Linked DNA regions of Homo sapiens: region 1 is linked to region 2. The links are contacts of gene promoters, found by promoter capture Hi-C in blood cells and fetal thymus (Javierre and others, 2016). All regions are on one chromosome and are shown on one strand. The core of a region is centred on a gene start or on the middle of the fragment in contact, and the rest is flanking DNA. Distances in the headings are between cores, read along the strand shown.

Region 1 (5,846 bases), core at 1,709-4,208, 47 kb after region 2:
GGCCTTCGTGTTGTTCTCTTTGCCTTTTTCATCAGATGCCTGCAGGCCCCTCACCTGCTTTGGGTCCCTATTCAAGCACCATTTTCTCAGTGAAATTCATCCCTCATTATCCTTCTCAAATTGGCAAACCAGCACTTCCTACACCCTCCTCTGCTTCATTTTTCTCCATGAAACTGACACCCTACCTACAGTCTATTTTTCTTGTTGACCATCTTTCTCCACCCACAAGAATGTGAACTCTATGAGGGCCAGTATTTCAGTTGGCACCTGGCACACAGCAGGTGCTCAATAAATATTTAAATGGGAGAACGGGAGTAACCTGAACTCAGCTTGCTGATATGGATCCTTGGGTCCTCTTGATGTCATCTTCACAGCAGAAGTGATTTTCTTCTCCAGTTCATGGACTTAGTAATTTGGGTGCTAAGGACTATGCTGGCTGTGTTGGGACCCAAGAGTGAACAGGGCAGACAACGACTCTGTGCTCATGCAGCTGCTAACATTCTAGGTGGAAATCAGCAGCCATAATGAATATCTACTGTGTTCCATGTGCTTAGGATACATTTCTGGACTGCATGGAGCTCACATTGGGGGAGAAAGAGGGTGACAGAAAGAGTTGGTACAAAGGCAGTGGGACAAAGAAGTAATGGGAATAAGAGATAATTGCAGAGGTAGAAATAACAAAACTAAAAGAATAATTCCATGTAGGGATGAAGAGGAGGAGAAATAAATATGATTCTGAGGTTGAAGTCTGAGGAAAACAGGTAAATTATGAAGTTATGATAAAATAATAAGATAGCAAAAGGGAAAGCAGGGTTTTGAAAATTGCAGCTCTAGTTTCTCAAAACTGGAGTTATCAAAAGGTTTAGGTTCGAATTCTGGTTCAGCCACTTTGTAGTTATATTAACACCACAGGAGAGACTTAACCTTTTGAATGAGTCTGTACTTCTGTCAAATAAAGATAATCCTTACTTGCAAAACTAAAATAATTTAAGTTTTTCTCTCTTTCACACACACATGCCTATGTGAATAAACTTCAAAGCCCAGTACGTGGTACACAGAAAATCATCAATATACTATTACCATTGACCCAACCCAGCATTAACCTAGGAATACAGGAACTCATGCATTTAGTAAATGTACATTCAGTGTCTAACAACATCTTAGGAGAATAAACACTAGACATACAGCAGTAAATTAAGATGGAAAAGGTAATTGTTCTCATGGTGCTTACTTTCGGGTGGGTTAATCTCTCTACAAATTAGGTGACCTTTGGTTGCAAAAAGGGCTATGAAGAAAATAAAGCAAACATGATAGATTCCTGTTTTCCAACAAGAATGTAGGTGCTATCAGGTGAACATATGTGGCAGCTGTGGAAAGAGCAACATTAAATCAGGTGGTCAGGGACAGTCTCTAAGAGCTGCCTGACAAATAAATCAGCTGTGAAAAAAGCTGGGATGAGACAAGTCCAGAAGGAAGCATAAGCGCAAAGACCTGGTTTCTGTTTAGAAGGTCTCCTGGCCAGGTCTTACCTGTTAAGTTTTTTTAACTTTTTAAACCTTAGCAACTCATCTGTGACATGGGGATAATAGCTAACATACAAACTTGCTCAGAAAATTCAATAGAAATACATTCATTTATTCAAATATTTATTGGCAAGCCTGGCACTGTCCTAGACACCATGGATAAATAATACCTGGCATATAGTAAGCACTCAGTTAATATACACCATCACAGTTACTCTAATTATTTCTACCCTGCGTTTCTTCAGCATGGCGCTGAAACAGTGTAAGCCTTTACTGACCCAGTGACACACTACTAGGAGCCAAGAAGAGAATACACTAAATAAAGACACTGGGAAATTCCTCAAACCTCCCCCATTTCTAGGGGAAGGCAGGTGTGGCTAAGGGGTCTGAATGAACATTTGTGATATCAATGGGATGAAGAATGAGGTCACCAAGAGACCTGGCATTGCCACAAAAGAGAACCAAAGTTCACTCACCTGGAGCTCTAGTGTCAAGAGATGTGGGGTTATTTCTCCTTCTTTTATACAATTATCTCCGAGAAACGAACAATTCCAAGAAGGAAGCCTGTGAAAGAAAAATGAACAGCAGGATAACATGATTTAATCCCAATTCCCACCACGCCACAGGGGGAAATCTCTCAGTGCCAGCTGGATGTAATCTACCCCTTCCTGTAATCTACCCTCGCTACTTGCTTCAGGAGCCGAGGAAAAGAACCTCTCTTCCTACAGGACTCAGAGTACAAGGGACACGCCATTCCTGATGCCCAAAGAAACCGTCTACAAGCCTACTTTCACTGCCCCTTTCAGGAGACAAGGAGAATCAAGACAAAATCTCAAGATTTTAATCCAGAGCTGACTGTCACATGCTGTGGGACACTTACAAGTGAAATTCTGCCTGTGTGTGCTTAGGCGGCTACAAAAAGCAGAGCCAGCAACGATACAGCAAACCAACTCCTAGGACTTGCACAGCGCTTAATACATTTCAAAGGATAAAATTAGAACACAGGGAATCAACTTCCTGTTTACAGAAATGACTTCGCAGAAAACTCTGAAATTACTCCACAAGTGGGTGGGCGGCTACCCTGAGAAAATTCATGTCATCGATCCGCAACTGACACAGTGGAGTCTCCCGCACTGCAGATCTCATCTCAAAGCCAGAGCTGGCCTCAAACTGCTTTTCCAAGCCTGGACTGCGAGGGCTGCCGACCCGGGCCCACCCCGCACAGGCGCTCAGAATGTTCGATACGTGCGCCTCCTTACACCCCTGCCTCACCAGGCCGAGCTCATGGAAATCCGTGGGCTTCGACCCTCCGCCGCACGTTGTCCCTTCACACTGGTCCTATAGAGCCGATCCTAATTCCCATGGCCTGACAGTACAACCGCATGGAGATGCACGTCTCTAAGACGCCTCACCACTGCCTAAGAAGCAATCAAGGTGACGCGCCCACCGGAAACGGAAGTAGTCGACTCGAGGTGTGGGACTACCTTTCCCAGAACCCTCCGCAGCGCAGTCCGATCCTAGGGGCGATGGTGTCGTAAATGCGCGTCCACCTCGAGTCACGCCCACTGCGAGGCGGCGGGAGGCGGCATGCAAGGTGTTTCTGAGTTGAAAAGAATGTCTTTACTCAGTACTAACATATTCGCGTTGTAGCAAACCTGACTATATTCTCAAACAAGCCCATCATCCCATCACCAGGGATATAAAGCATTATTGATTTTCTGGTGTAAAAGCCAACTAAATATTTATTTCAAAAGTAGTTCATATTACATGTAAAGAATGGTTTAAAAAAAATTCTTACTTAATCCCTGGTTTATGTGAGTAAATATGAATTCTTAAGAATCCCATTTCCCAAATGGCATCATAATATTTTGTAATCATTTCTTGCCACAGGTCATATATCGTGGATAGTTCTGTATGTCACAAAAGACGTAGAGATACATAGAGATAATAAAAAAACACAAATTATTTGCAATACTTGCCTAGCATTCTTTAGTTTTTAGGGAAGTTACCCCTTTGTCCTGCATTGAACTTACACTTCTAATTTTATGATATCAAAACTACACACAATCACTTTCTTTAATATTTTCCCAATTTGATGGACTAAATATCCTGTCTTATTTTCCCAATTTGACAGAGTAAATATGCTTATTACCGATTGCATTTCATTGTCATCTTTTATTGTCATACACTCTCTGTGTATGAATGATATCGCTTCTAAGTGATGAATTGCTCCCCCAGTTTCAACATTTATAAAGTAGTTTAGAAAAAAAAAAAAACAAAAAACTTCATCTGACAAGGTATATCAGTCTTTTCATTTGTGGCTTCTTTTTTTTCTCCAGTATGACCAAAAAGACATTCCTTAGCCTGATTCCCAATAAGTGCATATCTATATTCATTTCAGGCTCTTTCATTTTTCTTTTGAATCACCGCGTGATTCATTTAAGTGTATGATATGAAAGGAAGATGGAGTTTCCTGTTTCACCAAAGGATTGTCTACTTTTCTTAACAAAATTTACATAAATATTAATTCTTTCCTTTCTGATTTAAACGGCATCCTAATCACTTACTACATTACTATATATATAATGAAATATTTTCTGGGATACAAGTGTGTTCTGAAGATAGAGATTGCTTTTTCTGTGCCATGATGAAAGGTTTCAGTTACAGTGATAACTCATTTCCTTATCTCTCCCTCCTTGTTGTGTTTCAAAAATTTCATCCTAGAAGTTCTAGAACTCTCTCTTATAAACAGATTATCGAATTGTTTTGATAAATTCTAAAAAATTGCCAATTGACTCCAAAGCATCCAAGCCCTTCAGATATTTGGTTCCAAACCCACCCCTCTTTGCTTGGGTAGACACAGTCCTACTTCCCATCCTGTGTCCTCCAGTTTTACAAATGTCTGAATTTGCTGCTATTGTTCTTCCCTCTGTAAGTCCATCCTTTCCTGTACTATTAAAATCTTACTCCATATTTAAGACACAACTTGAATATAATTTCCTCTATCGAGTGTTTTTGAACTCTATATCATAATTCAATGAACAGATCAGTCTGTGATTGGGAGAATTTCATGCGAGTGTAGTGGATGTTAAATACCACTCTCAGAACATTCTCATTTCCCCGAGAAATCAATAAATTATATTACTCTGGGATCCAGCAACACATGGTTTAAATTGCTGGTTACCACCTTTCACATGGCCTCCATGGTCAGATCTCTAAGTCATCAAAATAATTGACTCTTCTTTTTCTTTATTTTCTTTATTTACCTTTCATGGCTCTGGCACATGGGAAGCACTTAAGCAATTCAATCAAGTGTCTTGGCCGGGCACGGTGGCTCATGCCTGTAATCAGAGCACTTTGGGAGGCCGAGGCAGGCAGATCACGAGGTCAGGAGATCGAGACCATCCTGGCTAACACGGTGAAACCCCATCTCTACTAAAAATACAAAAAAGAAAACAAAAAAAATTAGCCGGGCATGGTGGGGGGTGCCTGTAGTCACAGCTAGTCAGGAGGCTGAGGCAGGAGAATAGTATGAACCCGGGAGAAGGAGCTTGCAGTGAGCCGAGATCAAACCACTGCACTCTAGCCTGGGCGACAGCGCAAGACTCCATCTCAAAAAATAATAATAATAAAATAAACATAAAAATAATTATTTTAAAAAGGTGTCTTGACCTGGAAGCTAAGAGCCAACCTGCACAAAGTGTGGGTAGATGAATCCATTCCAAGGCCCAAGGTAAATATTCAGCCTTCATCCTACCTCATACAAACTGCAAAACACTGTAGAAACCGTGTGTCAACTGAATTTGAAACTGCTGTAATTTCCGACTCCCTAACAGTTTTGTTATTGTTAAGAAAAAATAACCCAATTTTAAGTAGGCAAGGTATTTCCGTAGACATATCTTAAACGAAAATAAACAAATAGGCAAGAGACACATGAAATGACTCTCCACATCCTCAGTCATTAGGGAAATGGAAGTCAAAACAATGGTGCTACTTCACACTCACTAGAATGGTCAGGATTGAAAAGCAGAAAATAGGCTGGGCACAGTGGCTCACGCCTGCATCCCAGAACTTTGGGAGGCTGAGGTGGGCGGATCACCTGAGGTCTGGAGTTCGAGACCAGTCTAGCTAACATGGTAAAGCCCCTTTTCTACTAAAAATACAAAAAATTAGCTGGGTGTGGTAGCATGCATCCGTAATCCCAGCTATTCGGGAGGCAGAGGTTGCAGTGAGCCGAGATCGCACCACCGCACTCCAGCTTGGGCAACAAGAGTGAAACTAAATCACACACACACACAAAAAAAAAACAGAAAATAAAAAATG
Region 2 (5,577 bases), core at 1,247-3,746:
GCACTGGTCTGTGGGCTACCCTTTGAATTGCAGCTCACAGGGTTATAGAATCAGGTTAATAGAATGTGAAATGTCTTTTTGGTAAATCCTTGGACTCTTTTTCTCTCCTTTCCTACCTTTAAGAGACATCATTAATCACTTCTTATTTTGGGCTCCAACAAAGGCCAAAATAAGGAGGGTTCAACTCATTAGTACAGCATGAATTACATCGTTTTACAATAGTTAAAACCTACCAAGAAAACACTCCTCCTTTCCCCTGTCAAAAAACTACAAATCCTAAAAAAAAAAAAAAATAACCAAGCTGTAGTCTTTTATCCACTGTACTTGGTAAGGATCTTATCATTTAACAAGCACTCAATCAATGTTTCTCAATATTAACAAATGCACAAATAGAATTGGCTTGGATATTATACATTAGATGCACGTGCAAAGACATAAACTCACCCTCTACTTCCAGTACCTGTTCTCACTGAAGAGCCAATAATGGGACAGGTTTATTTTGAAGCACACATCCACACACATGCACTCACACATATATGGTTGGGGGTTTGGTTTCCTGAATTTCTGGCTTCAGACACTACCTGCCTGTATCAAGTCAGGGCCGTGGCACGAACCAGACGGCACATTGAAATTTGAGGAGAGTTTAATAAACAGACGGCTTACAATGGTGTTGGCTCGGGGTAAGGAAATCACAATGGATAAGGCTCTATCCTGGGGAGTGACAGGGAGGTGCCATTATAATACCTGGGCCTTAAGAGGTAAGGGGAGGGAGCAGTCCCTGGAGCCTGGAACTAAGAGGACTGTGTGGCCAGGGCCACCCAAACTATGACCTGTTGTTTAGAAGGGCAGCTAATCTGTGACAATCCTGCAGAGAGAGAACTGGGGGACAAGATACTCCAACTCACACTTCTTCCTCTCTCCAAACTTTCCTGTTGAGACTTCCCATTGGCCAAAGACAAGCAAGGCCAGAAGGCAATGGCGGCCTTTCAGGGCAGACAGCAGGGTGGAAAAGGTGGGGAGCCAAAGGCATGGGACACATGGCACCTCAAGACTCTTGTTTTTTCCCTATCTGCCAAAGTCCACACAGCTCTCGCACACAAATGCCTTTCTCATCCCTCACCCTGACAACTACTCTGATCTGAGGAATGCATCAGGAATGAGACCAGATGCCCATATCAACTTCTTCAGGGAATGAAGACCTAGAGGAAAAGTGCAGCTGAATCTGGAACTGCAATTGCCCAGAAACACGATCAGAAATGTAATAAATGCTGCTATTACACCTAAAATAATTAACACTAAATCTCTAACTTTATCAAATATACAGAGAGTGTTCAAACTTCAAATTTGTTGAGTGTAATTTAACAACTTATATTTGCTAATGTGCTTTATAATACTCAAAGTCCCTACTCCCTGGCTCACAGCATGTGAGGTGAGAATGGAGTTAATAATTTGGGGCAGTTCTTTTCTTTTCTTTTTTCTTTGAGACAGAGTCTGGCTCTGTCGCCCAGGCTGGAGTGCAGTGGCGTGATCTCAGCTCACTGCAAGCTCCGCCTCCCGGGTTCACGCCATTCTCCTGCCTCAGCCTCCCGAGTAGCTGGGACTACAGGCGCCTGCCACCGTGCCCGGCTAATTTTTTGTAATTGTTTTTTGTAGTAGAGACGGGGTTTCACCGTGTTAGCCAGGATGGTCTCGATCTCCTGACCTCGTGATCCGCCCACTTTGGCCTCCCAAAGTGCTGGGATTACAGGCGTGAGGCACCGCGCCAGGCCTGGGACAGTTCTTTTCAAAATGTATTCGGTGACATTAAACTCTGGAGTTATTACAGTATTACAGTCTGAGTTGTTTCTTTATTGCCAAAAGCCAGAACCTCTGCCTTGAAGTCATAAATGCCCCAATGGAGTCAGAGCTGCCAAAATCCAGAGTTCAGACCCAAGACAACTCCCCATCCAAGAACCTAGGGGTGCTGAGCCAGAATCGCCCCCACCAAACTGAGCGAGAACAGCCGAAGCCATCCTCTATATCCAGAGACTAGCTGCTTAAGCAAATCCCTCATCCCATTCAGGGACGCACAGTCCAGCCATTACTCCAAAACCCTGAGCCAGCGCCCCTCTGCCCTCATCCAGAGATGCACATCCCAAGACTGACCCTAAGCTTCGACCCGAGGAGGCACAGCGCAAGTCGCTGTCACGAAACGTGAAGATGCACTGTTTTGTCAAACCCAGGGCTGCTCCCCAAACCGAGCCCACGCTCGAGCCCACGCTCTTCCCATCCTATCCCGGGTAGGTCGGGCCGCTGAACTTCCCTAGTCTACCCCACCTACGAGGCCTTATCATTGGTTACCAGTCCCCTCTTCCACTCCTCCTACTTCAGTCCACAGGGACGGGTCACAGCTGCACATCCTACACTCCTACTCCTGGCTACGCCTCCAAGAGGGGCGCGGTACAGACGGGACTCACCCCAGCGTCCCAAACAATGTCGCCCGCAGCGTGCGTCCAGTACCATGGCGCATGCGCAAGGAGGCCTATGGCCTACAATCCCCAGAAAGCCCCGCGCGCAGCAGTGGCCATTCGCAAGGCTACCCTGGTGAAGGTGGCCTTTGACTTCCGTGCATTTGGAAGTCCTTTGACTTCCGTGCATTCGTCTAAAATAACGACAATCATAATAACGATAAAATAATGAAATGTTAAATAAATCACTATCAACGATGAAAAGAAGTTTCAATATTTTACTACTTGGAAATGGGCACTTTACCGTTTTAGTGAAGACTTTTATAAGTTCTTATTTTATAGGCATGTCTTTTAACGTTAAAACCACGAAACTTTTCAATTAACACTCACTTAAATAATTCCCTCCCCGCCCCCCACCATGTTTTATTTCTGTTGATGAAAACTCTGGATAATCTACACTTGCGATATAACATAGCCCTGTAATTTATTTCCTAGTCTCAGAAGAAGCAGAAGGAATTAACAACTATTGTCTGAATCCTTAACAGGGGAATTGCAGGAGTACTGAGAGTGTCCTAAAAGAGACACATTACAACATAACAAGAAAACGCGGGAAGTTTTCAGATTCTTTTTGAAAATTTGCCCTTGTTGAGACTTAGGCTTTATTTTACTTCATGTTATTGCATTTAAGATTTAAGATTTCTATTAAAGAAAAATTTGGGTACCCTAAATGGGGTAAGAAAATTGAATAGGAATTCCATTAGAGGCCCACAGTTTTAGCCTGGAGGAAAGCCCTGATAACGTGTGAGAACAATCTGTCTCCTAGGAAAGGTCACCTGGTCCTGCTGGCAGAGTCTCTGTTTGGAATATCTGGCTGGCATTCCCTTTTCCACGCACCCTCAAGCTGTAGGGGTGGTGAGGCGGTTCCAGTCCTAGACTAGATAGAGAAGTGAAGACCCCCACCTCTACGCAATGGGCAGGAAATGGTTGAATAATATCCAACTATAGCTTGACATCGCAGCTTAGGGCACATAAAGGGACAGTGCAATTGTTTTGGCTTATCTCTGTCTTTTGATGTTTACATGTTTGATGTTCTTATATATTGCTCTAAGTTGAAGGATTACTTGATTTAATTTGACATACTTGAATTTTAAAAAACGAGTTCAGGAACATTTTTATTTTTGACCTAATACAAGGTTAATTTTTGTGACATCTGTGTCTGTTGGAAAACAATGTGTCTTCTCTATCAGATGGATATGCATACATTTATATTTTCCCCAGACTTGCTAACTGTGCTATTTAAATTTCCTACATGCTTATTTGTGCTTACTTAGATTTTTTCATTATGCATCTGTCAACGATTGAAAAGTGCATGTCAAAAAGGTTCCCAGTCTGGGCGTGGTGGCTCAAGCCTGTAATCTCAGTACTTTGGGAGGCCGAGGTGGGCAGATCACGCGGTGAGGAGTTCAAGACCAGCCTGGCCAAGGTGGTGAAACCCCATCGCTACTAAAAATACAAAACTTAGCCAGGCATGGTGGCAAGCACGTGTAGTCCCAGCTACTTGGGAGGCTGAGGCAAGAGAATCACTTGAACCCAGGAGGTGGAGGTTGCAATGAGCCGAGATCATGCCACTGCACTCCAGCCTGGGCGACAGAGCAAGACTCTGTCACCAAAAAAAAAGAAAAAAGAAAAAAGTGAAAGAAAAAAAAGCCTATAATGGTAAATTTGTCATTTTCCTCTCTATAGCATTTGCTTTATTTATTTATTTATTTATTTATTTATTTATTTCCTTTATTTTTTTTTTGAGACTGAGTCTCGCTCTGTTGCCCAGGCTGGAGTGCAGTGGCGCCATCTCAACTCACTGCAAGCTCTGCCTCCCAGGTTCACACCATTCTCCTGCTTCAGCCTCCCGAGTAGCTGGGACTACAGGTGCCCGCCACCAGGCCCAGCTAATTTTTTTGTATTTTTAGTAGAGACAGGGTTTCACCGTGTTAGCCAGGATGGTCTCCATCTCCTGACCTTGTGATCTGCCCACCTCGGCCTCCCAAAGTGCTGGGATTACAGGCGTGAGCCACCATGCCCAGCCTGCTTCATTTTTCAAAAGTCAAGTTACTAGGTATACAAATGGCTTTACTTTTTAAAAGTTGTGTTGTTAGGTATGGAAGTGTTGTATTCCTTATCTGAAATACTTGGGACCAGAAGTGTTTCAGATATTTTATTTTTTTCAGATTTTGCAATATTTGCATATACGTAATGAGATATCTTGAGGATGAGACCCAAGTCTAAATGCAAAATTCATTTGTGTTCCATATAAACCTTATACATGTAGCCTGAAATTAATTTTATAGAATTATTTTGAATAATTTTGTTCACAAGGTTTGTATACAATGTTTGTGTGCATTGAACCATCAGAAGCAAAGATTGCCTTCGTCAGATGACCAAAGAAAAATCAATGAAAAGAACAGAAAGAAAGCAAATACTTCAGGTGTGGAATTTTCCACTTGTGGTGTCATGTTCACATTCCAAAAGTTTTAGATTGTGAAACATTTTGGATTTTAAAATTTAGTGATGCTGACCCTGTGTAAGTTTCATAATGTTCATATCTTCTTGATGGGCCAAAAATTTCGTTAACAATTTTAAGTATTTTGTATTTTCACCTTGAGTTTACTTTTCAGTGAAGACTGTACCTGCTTTCTTTTCATTAGATTTCATCTAGTATTTATTCTTTCATTTTGTCTTAAAATTAGTATATTTCTTTACCTTATTATTTATATACTCTTTATTATTATAGTTATTTTTAAATGTTACTTTTACCTAATCTAAGAGCTTGGCTTTAGTCTGAAAATCCACACTTAAATGGGTGTGTTAAGAACAAAAGAGAAAGCTCTTGTATAATTGATCTAGGAGCTGCTCATACTTCCCAACTGTAGAACAGTGAATCTGGCCTGTAATCCTAGTTGCTCAAGCAGCTGAGGTGGGAGGATGGCTTGAGCCTGGAAGGTTCAGGGTGTAGTGAGCTATGATGGTGCTACTGTACTCCAGCTTGGGTGACAGCATGAGATCTTATGTCTGAAAAAATAGAACAGTGACCCTCAAACAGGAATGAAATAGCCTCCCTAAGACTTTTTTGAAT

Evidence for each region. Contacts are between HindIII fragments. The CHiCAGO score rates a contact against its expected background, and 5 or more counts as called.
Region 1: a contact is called between the fragment with the promoter of ZNF229 here and the fragment with the promoter of ZNF285 in region 2, in 2 of 17 cell types (neutrophils and erythroblasts). The highest score is 7.2, in neutrophils.

Annotation. Positions count from the first base shown.
Region 1 is chr19:44,445,514-44,451,359 of GRCh38, forward strand. It overlaps ZNF229 (zinc finger protein 229), which reads right to left and starts at 2,959. Exons shown (of 6, transcript NM_014518.4): 1 at 2,796-2,959; 2 at 2,000-2,087. The HindIII fragment of the contact is 11,359 bases long and covers 1-5,846 here.
Region 2 is chr19:44,399,112-44,404,688 of GRCh38, forward strand. ZNF285 (zinc finger protein 285) reads right to left here and starts at 2,497. Exons shown (of 4, transcript NM_152354.6): 1 at 2,457-2,497. RefSeq lists an enhancer at 1,894-2,650. The HindIII fragment of the contact is 3,728 bases long and covers 2,150-5,577 here.